Regions from separate parts of the Homo sapiens genome. Here region 1 is linked to region 2. The links are contacts of gene promoters, found by promoter capture Hi-C in blood cells and fetal thymus (Javierre and others, 2016). All regions are on one chromosome and are shown on one strand. The core of a region is centred on a gene start or on the middle of the fragment in contact, and the rest is flanking DNA. Distances in the headings are between cores, read along the strand shown. Region 1 overlaps ANKRD44 (ankyrin repeat domain 44). Region 2 holds the start of ANKRD44-AS1 (ANKRD44 antisense RNA 1).

Region 1 (4,957 bases), core at 1,017-3,516, 80 kb before region 2:
TTTTTCTTTATGCTAATTTCATTCTCCTGTTGCCTATTTCCTGTCTGTAGACTGCACATGGCCCCGGGGGGCTTAAGGTGATTTTCCGACCTTGCAATCACCTCTTAGGATTTTTCTGTTAAACACTCTTAGGTGTATGTGACAGCAGTAGGGACAGAATGAACTGGCAGTCCTGTCACACGCCGAGCTCAAAGAGAGATTGGACAGAAAGAGAGAGATAAGGTGGTTTAAAGGCAGAAGTGTCTCATAAACCATTAATACTAGGGAGGACGAAATTCTTATAGTAGTGGTGGCTCAAAAATGATGACAACAAAGCTTTGCAGAGCATCTGCTGTGAGGCGAAGAGGTGAGATTCTGGGAAGCCAGGACAAGACACTGTACCCAGGAACTTTATGGTCCAACTGGGTGGGGTGGGAAGCATGGAAATAAATCAATCCCAATGCAGGGCGGTCTGTGTTTAGGGTGCCAGCTGATGGCTCTCATTGGAGTGCAGGAGAGTGAGCACATCCAGGCAGGAAGCTTTCTGAAAGGTGGCTTTATGGAGGACATGGGATTTGAGTTGGTTTTTAAATGTCTCGTAGTAGGACAAACTAGGAAGAAGGAGGAAGGGTGCATTTGGGAGCAGAGGTCAGCAAGGGAAGAGAGAAAAAGGAAGCCTTGCAAAGGGCTTCCAGGAACAGTGAAGCGAGCAGCTTGGCTGGAGCAGAGGGTGTGTATGGGCAACAGTGGGAGATTGGATGGGAGAGAATGGACAGTGCCAGTTTGTGGAGTTCCAGTTTGTGAAAACCCGCTAAGGAGTTTGGGGTTTATCTTGTGACCGTGGGGAGCCATGACGACTTTTGATCAGAGGTTGTGATGTGTGCCAAGTGGTGTTTTAGGATGAATAATCTAACCATGATGTATATAGAGACTCAATGGCTTGTTTACTGCCTGGACTGCGTGATGCTGTTTCTCAGGCCATCTTCCAAGGACAAATGACGTTTTATTGTATACAGGTAGGCTCCCTGGTATTGTATTAGGAACTGACCCTCACAGTTTTATTAGTTAGGAGAGGGAAATGTTCTATCACCAGCATCTCTTAAATCTTCAGGGGCAATATTTTATCAGTCTTTGAAATGTGGACTGAATGATGGATATGCGATCCACTCTTAAATACAGCACTGCTAAGCTTAGCCCTGCAATCATGTGGTTATGAAATATTATCCAGCCTGAAACCATAAGAAAAACCCGCTTAGTCTGACCTTCTCACAACACATGAGAGCCCAACCTTTGAAAGGATGTGGAAAAACTGGAGAACTGCTGACTGCACAAAATGCAAATGAGAATTCCACGTGGAGGGATTCTTCTCTGACTTCTTGGTATTTTCTTCTCTTGCATGTTTGCTCCAGACCACACCGCCTGTTTCTGCTCCAAATGTTTCCAAAGCGAAAAGTCTCTGCCTCAGAGATTTGAGGCACTTGCTTGCTGGCGACCTACGTGTCGCAATGAGAGAAAGGAAAGGGGTGGTGGGGAAGAGAAAGTGGGTAGGGAGGTCTTTTGGTCTTACTGTCCAATAAGACCTTGTGGCCTGTAACATGGGTGTAAAGAGCCTCCATCTTTACCTTTGTAGGGATAAAAGTGAGTTTTGTGGATGGGCGCAGTGGCCCATGCCTGAAATCCCAGAACTTTGGGAGGCTGAGGTTGAGGCCAGCAGTTTGAGACCAGCATGGTGAAACCCCGTCTCTACTAAAAATACAAAAATTAACCGGGCGTGGTGGTGCGTGCCTGTAGTCCCAGCTACTCGGGAGGCTGAGGCAGGAGAATTGCTTGAACCCGGGAGGTGGAGGTTGCAGTGAGCCGAGATCACACCACTGCACTCCAGCCTGGGCGACAGAGCAAGACTCTGTCAAAACAAAACAAACAAAAAGTAAGTTTTGTAACTACCTGGATGCACATTTAGGATGCAGAATAAAAAAAACAGAAAAAAAGATGGATTTCATCTTTATTTCTATTCATTGTTAACTCTTTCTGCATTAGAACACAGAAGCTTAGCACTTTGCAATTTAACAGCCAGTTAAACACCCCTTAACCCCTTAGCACCAGCCAATTGCCTTTCTTCCTAGCATATTTCCATCCCTCCCGTCCCCACTGATACTGTCCTGATTGCTGCAGTCACTCACTATTAGCTAATTTGCTGCCTTGGGAGATGCTGCGTTAAGATGGCTCTCTGATTAGGTGGGAATTGATTAAGCAGAAACTGCTTTACGCTGTTACTAGAACTGTCGAAGCAGTGTGAGAGCTCCTAATTCTGAGCCTCCTCTCATTTTGCTGTTGTCTCAATTAAGTTACTTTTCTATGATTTGTGGCTCATTAGCGTCAGTGACTCCTAACTGCCTATTCTCATCCTTGAGTCTTTCCAGCCATATGTGAATGATACATGCTCAGAGTCCCTTCTAATTATGATAATTTCCTCTTGTCCTCCTGAATGCTGGTGACAGCGCTAATAGCAAGATGGAAGTGAAGCTTTGGATAGAAATTCTATGTCTTGAAACTCCTTGGGACCTCTTCCATACCACCCCTACCTGTTTCCCTCTGGTCAAGGCTTGAGTATTAGCTGCGTGGTTAAGCTCTATCATCTGGGACTGCAGGGCCTAAGTTTAAAACCTTGAGTGAAATTATTCTGCTTCTTTAGGCCTCATTATTCTGAAAGACTGGATAGGAGTGGTATTTATCCCAGACAGTAGCTTTGAATTTGGATGGAGATAATGTATGTAAAGGCCTCTGCAGTCACGGTCTCCAGAGATGAGGCTCTTACTCCCTGTCTTCCAGATCCTCACTGGAATGCACCCTTTGCAAGACACCTCCTCCAGCCCAGCTGTTCCTTTCTTGAATTCCCATAGCACTTCACTGGTATTTCTTTCTAGCACTTAACAGTTATGTGCCTGACATGATGGTTAAAATTTTACCTTCCCTTTGAGACTCTGAGCACCTCTAGGCTAGGGAAGGGCTTGGTGCACTCCGTGTCCTCTATACTTGTGGGTACCAAACCGAGAAGAGGATCAATATCACTTGAGGAGCTTTGAAAAATAGATTCCTTTGGGAGGCCGAGGTGGGCCAATCACAAGGTCAGGAGATTGAGACCATCCTGGCTAATGCAGTAAAACCCCGTCTCTACTAAAAATACAAAAAATTAGCTGGCCTTGGTGGCAGGCACCTGTAGTCCCAGCTACTTGGGAGGCTGAGGCAGGAGAATGGCGTGAACGTGGGAGGCAGAGCTTGCAGTGAGCCGAGATTGCGCCGCTGTACTCCAGCCTGGGCAACAGAGCGAGACTCCATCTCAAAAAAAAAAAAAAAAAAATTCCTGGGTTCTAGCCCCAGAGAGCATCCTTATGAGACAGGCTGGAGCCTAGGCACCTGGATTTTTTATGAATGCCACAGGTATTTGTGCTGTGGGTGGGCCTCAGACCCCAGTTTTAGAATCAGTTCTATAAGGCAGTGGTTTCCAACCTTATCAAACCCAGCATCCTCTTTTATATATTTTGTAACATCCTCTTCCTGAAATGGAAACTCACAGATAATAGAACTCACACACAATATTTAAAAATAAATCAATGTAATACTCTAATTATAATATAAAGGAGAAACAACATGAAAATAATTTATAATAAAGTAGCATGTATTTCAATATGGGGACAGCTATATTGAAGACCTAATGAAATAGTTACATTTTTGCTCATAAATCAGTTTGTATTTAAGAAATATTCAGCTGAATAGTTTTAGTTATATATTAGTACTCTTATATATAACCCTAGAAATAAGGGCAAAAAAGTCTTTTCTTGTTTATCACTAAGAATATGACAACTATAAATATAGAGCAATACAGGTGTGTTATAGAGATGTCTCATTAATCATGAATGTCATTTCTGTAAGAGTCATCATTTTTAGAGATGGTGTAAAAAACTCTTAGCAAAGTTCTTTTTTTAATTTTCCTTTTTTTTTTTTTTTTTTTGAGACCAAGTTTCGCTCTTTTTGCTCATGCTGGAGTGCGGTGGCATGATTTCAGCCCCCTGCAACTTCTACCTCCCAGGTTCAAGTGATTCTCCTGCTTCAGCCTCCCAAGTAGCTGGGATTACAGGTGCGTGCCACCATGCCTGGCTAATTTTTTATTTTTACTAGAGACAGGGTTTCACCATGTTGGCCAGGCTGGTCTCGAACTCCTGACCTCAGGTGATTTGCCCACCTTGGCCTCCCAAAGTGCTGGGATTACAGGCGTGAGCCACTGCGCCCGGCTAGTAAAGTTCTGAACAAAATACATTACATCCTTCCCTCAATTTATAGGGTAATCAAATTCCTAGAGAATTTAGTGTATTTAAAACTAAACAATATTTTATGAAATGCATAGTTAAGATCTAGACTTAGATAATTATATAAACTCTTTCCCCCTCTTTTATGAAAATCATGTGGGATGTGGGCCAATCCACCATGAAAAGAAATTTTCTAGAGCACTGTAGGACTGTAGCGTTCCTGCTCCCACCCCCCATATGCCAGCAGAGCCCTGTAATCATTGTAACGACCAAAAGCCCCCAACCCGGTTCCAAAGCCTGTAGGGGCAGTGCTACCCCGCTGAGAACCACTGCTGTGGACATAGAAAGTGCAATAGCCCTAAATGATCATCAGTACAGAGCCCTTGTGGTCCCAGCAGGTTGCCCACCCCCCCAACATGGTGCTCTGTACATATTTGTTAAATAAGTAAATGAATGAACTACCAGTCTTTGAATACTTGAAGTAAATGGCATGGATCCCCCCTTCTAAAATTTTATGAGTGCGTGTTGTATTTTTTTTTTTTTTTTTTTTTTGAAGAGACTGGGTCACCTGGGCACAGTGGCTTATGCCTGTAATCGCAGCACTTTGGGAGGCTGAAGTGGGAGGATCTCTTGAGCCCAGGAGTTCAAGACCAGCCTGGGCAACATAGTGAGAC
Region 2 (4,534 bases), core at 1,640-4,139:
ACTATTGCAACATAGAGTGAAAGACCAACACTGTAGTGACTGTCGATGTAAACATTTTAACAAAGTTTTTGATTATCAAAAGAACTGAGGTCTTTTTGGTTGCTAAATTCCAGTCACTTCATTATTGCTTTCTTTCATGTTATTCATATTATTTTCCAGATGGGCAGGAGCAGCTTAAATGACTACTGTTGTTTGAAGGGCACAGCAAGCGTTGTATGTGTTTTGGCAGGGGGTAGCATAGGGCATGAGAAGGACAGGGAAGGAAGAGATTTGGAGGTAATTTCAAGCTCGTGCTGTCTGGAAGTAGTGCATTTTAAATTAGTGTTAGTGTGATGTTCTGCAGCAGCCAAGCTTGGGAATTTTTTATATCTTTAAGCAGAGTCTGGCGAGTGGTGGTGGTGGGAGGAGTATGAGAAGAGGGTGTTTAGAAATGCTGTAACTCAGGACATTCTCCTGAGCATATACATGTCTAAAGTCAGTGCTGTGCCCTGCCTCATTTGTCATTCCAAAATACATTTTTTTCCTTCCTCCATCTAAACCATGTTCAGGCCTTGTTCAAGTCCTGCCTCCTCCAGAGACACCACTCTGGCTTCTTAGCCTTTCATGCTTCCCCTTTTCTGAATCAAGAAGGCTCCTAGAATATTATGGCTAAAGGCACCTCCAGATTACCTCTCCAATCTGTCATTGTGCAGAAGGACAACTTGGCATCCATTTGCATGAGGTCTGTAGAACATGGTTCAGTACTGTCTTACACAGTTTAAGTGTTTTGTGTGGGTTAGGCTTATTTCCCCAACTATATTTGGCAGTCTTTTAGGAAAGGACTATGTCACACATTTCTTTTGTATATTTCATAAAAATAGCATATTGTAGGTACTCAGAAAATGCTTTTGGCTCTGGTAGCACTTCTCTGTGCAATGTGGATAAGCACTGATAGAGGCTTGTTTGTTGTGGTACAAACTAGAAACAACCCAAATGCCCATTCGAAGGGGAATAATTGAATATGTTATGGCATATCCATACAATGGAATAGTATTATATATAGTTATTAAGAGAAATGATTTAATCCTGTAGCTATCGACCTGGGGGATGTCCTCAGTACATCATTATTTTTGCAAATTGTAAGAGAGGGAAATAAGCCAGGCATGGTGGTATGCATCTGTAATCCAGACTACTTGGATTACAGATACTTGGGTGGGAGGATCGCTTGAACCCAAGAATTTGAGACCACCCTGGACAATATAGCAAGACCCCCATCTCAAAAAAAGTGTGTGTGTGGGAAATAGTAAAATCCCATTTTCTGATAATAAATAACGATAATCTCATATATCTGTATCTGTACCTACCAACAAGAACACGGGCTGTTCACATTTGTGGTAGGAAAGGTTATTAAGTTTTTTCTTTATCTGTTTTTGTATTGTTGCAACAGGAAACCTACTAAGATTAAAATCCAGCAAACATAAGACAAAGATAAAATGCACAGGGGTTTTGATGCATTAGGTGTTTCCCATAGTACTTCCTATTTTTCAAACTTCGTGTGATTAAAAAAGTAAGTTTTATCCCTGACTAAATTTCAGTGTGGAAATAAAGAAATAAAGATAGCATGTACTTGGCTTAGGTATACTTGTTTTGTTCTTTCAGCTCGTTACGTAAAGATACATTTTTTTTTCTTTCTCATGACATGAAGATAAGCTTTCTTCTTACCAAAACCTAAACTGTGAAGGCAGCACCCAAGCCAAAAGCCTCGAGGCTCTGGTTTCTGTGGTGGGATGGGGAGAGAAGTAGGTTGCACAGATGTAGGATGCCAGCTGACTTCAGAACTTCCGGTCTCAGAGCTAACCAGGCTCGGCAAGCCACAAGAGAGAAGGAGCTTGCATAGGTGGAAGAGCAAAGAAAGCCAGTGCTGCAGAACTTCCGGTGCTCCTCCGCCGATGTCGGGCTGGCGCTGCTCCCGAGCCCTGTGTCCTGTGGAAGAAGTTGGTGAGAATCGTTTTGAATGTAGGCAGCCACTCCTGAGGAGGCTAGCCCTTGCTACATTAAAGGTGGAGCTAGATTTACATTTTATTTTATTTTATTTTATTTTTTATTTTTCGAGATGGAGTCTTGCTGTCGCCCAGGCTGGAGTGCAGTAGCACGATTTCAGCTCACTGCAACCTCCACCTCCCGGGCTCAAGCGATTCACCTGCTTCAGCCTCCCGAGTAGCTGGGATTACAGGGGCACGCCACCATGCCTGGCTAATTTTTTGTATTTTTAGTAGAGACGGGGTTTCACCATGTTGGCCAGGCTGGTCTCAAACTCCTGGCCTCAGGTGATCCACCTGCCTCGGCCTCCCAAAGTGCTGGGATTACAGACGTGAGCCACCATGCCCGGTCAAATTTACCTTTTAGATTCACATATTACCACCAGAAGAATGCTTCCTCTGACAACTGAGCGGTACTCCATCCCCAGAGCCCTTTGTGCAGACTATTATTGCAGTTTCCTAACTTGTTATGACACTCCAGCCTTTTCCTCCAGGTCATCATACAATCCATTTTTAGAGTGATTGTTCTAAAGCACAAATCTTAGGTCACTCCCCTGCTCAAAAACCACCCACTGCTCCCCCAGTTCCACAGAAGAGAGCTCAAATTTCTTAGCTTGGTATTCAAGACCTTCCATGATAGGATCCCTGTCTACTACTCAGCTTACCTCACTTCTCCCCTCCTCCAGCCAAATGAAACTGTTCCCTGTGTATGTTCAGGCTCCCTAGCTTCTGCTCACAGCCTTCTGAATATGAAGAAGGGAAAGTCCCTTACCATTCCATCCGTCTCTACCTGTTTAAATCCTCCCCAGTCTTCAATATTCATTTCAGAGGCTGCGTCTTTCAGGAGGCCAGGTACAATTTCTCTCCCTTCTCCATGCACTTCTCCTGCGGCCTGTGCCTTACATTCTAGCTGTGCGTATTTGTATACTTCCTGTTACACCTTGGTAACCTCATCAAGGGAGAGACTGACTCTGACATTCCAGTGTCTGAATTTCTTTCTTTCTTTTTCTTTTTCTGTGTTTCTTTCTTTCTTTTTTTTTTTTTTTTTTTTTGAGACAGGATTTCACTCTGTCACCCAGGCTGGAGTGCAATGGTGTGAGCATGGCTCACTGCAGCCTCAATTTCCTGGGCTCAGTTGGTTCTCCCACCTCAGCCTCCCGAGTCGCTGGGACTACAGGTGTGCGCCACCGTGCCCAGCTAATTTTTGCATTTTTAGTGGAGATGTGGTTTCACCATGTGTCTAGGCTGGTCTGGAACTCCTGGATTCAAGTGATCCGCCTGCCTTGGTCTCCCAAAGTGTTGGGATTACAAGCATGAGCTACTGCGCCCGGCCTCCAGTGTCTGAATTTCTTATGCTCAGTAAATGTCTTATGCTTAATACATCTTTGTTGAATTGAATGTGGTTATCTGAAATGTACCAAATTAAGTTTTAGAAAACATATCTTTTATCCCCTGTTGGAGGGGGTAGTGTGTAAAGAAATAAAGGAGCTACGCACTGGGTTGGTGTCTGTGAAAGGAAATATGATATGACTTCTTTTTTTTTGCAGAATTTCCCATTTTCCCATTTTATATTATCGAATGTTTTCCAGTCTCTTAGGCTCCTCTCTCTTCCTGCTGCCTTATCCTTTCCCTTTGACATCTGTCACTGGATGTCCTTACCATGATTTTGGATGGGGAAATGAGAAGATGCTTCCTGAAAGACTACACTGAGGGGATTCTCTAATAGATTTTCATTCCATGTGACTTTTTCTGGCTGGGGAGGGAGTAGGGGACCTTCCAGTCATCTCAGGCAGAAACTAATTCAGGTCCTGATCAACCCACTGCCTTAAATTTTAGAATGGTTGCTATAACAATTTTAGAATGGTTGCTATAACAAGATGCCTTAGGAAAAAAAAAATTGACAATGGCCAGAACAGGAAGGTGACTCCGTTTTACACATGTCCCTAGTCCCTCACCTGTGGAGAGGTGGTGAGAGTTTAACTGCTTGCTGTCTTTCCAAGAATGCACGTGGAATTCAAAGAAAAGAACAGTAGAAGGGAAGGAGAGGGTTTAAAGGAAAATTGTCATGGGCTTTGGAAAGACCTGATTGTGTAAAAATTGCTTGCTGGTGTTTGGAAAGAACCCAGGTGCTAACAGATTTTAGACAAACCCAATCTGGAGTTGCCTAAATCATGAATGATTTAATGTGACTGAGTTAATCCATATATCTTGTATACAGTAGTTCCAGCCTCCTCAAATGTAGCAGGAGATTGCCACCTTTCTGAGAGTACCTTTCATTTCTACATGCTGATTTTGTTGTTGTTTTTAAAGGACACTTGAATTGCTTTATTTAGCTTCCAATTTGTGAGATTCTCAAAAATTAAAATTACTCATGACCACAAGAAGATACTTCTGTAGTTATGGATCATTTTCTGCTATTTTTTATAAGGAATACTTTTTTATTGTTGTCTTTTTTATAAGTGATGCACATACCAGGTAGTAATAAAAAGTCATGTTTTCCAGTGCACCCTAAAACT

What was found. Contacts are between HindIII fragments. The CHiCAGO score rates a contact against its expected background, and 5 or more counts as called.
Region 1: a fragment that was not itself captured here is called in contact with the fragment with the promoter of ANKRD44-AS1 in region 2 in 11 of 17 cell types (total B cells, naive CD8 T cells, naive B cells and 8 more); the score reaches 13.9 in total B cells.

What each region holds. Positions count from the first base shown.
Region 1 is chr2:197,275,307-197,280,263 of GRCh38, reverse strand. All of the region lies in intron 1 of ANKRD44 (ankyrin repeat domain 44), which reads left to right. The region is part of intron 5 of ANKRD44-IT1 (ANKRD44 intronic transcript 1); the gene reads left to right. Among named protein-coding and RNA genes, the nearest start is that of ANKRD44-IT1, 25 kb to the left of the region's middle. The HindIII fragment of the contact is 476 bases long and covers 2,029-2,504 here.
Region 2 is chr2:197,196,346-197,200,879 of GRCh38, reverse strand. ANKRD44-AS1 (ANKRD44 antisense RNA 1) reads right to left here and starts at 2,889. Exons shown (of 2, transcript NR_135584.1): 1 at 2,791-2,889; 2 at 1,607-1,962. All of the region lies in intron 1 of ANKRD44 (ankyrin repeat domain 44), which reads left to right. RefSeq lists an enhancer at 1,774-1,843. The HindIII fragment of the contact is 4,177 bases long and covers 1,692-4,534 here.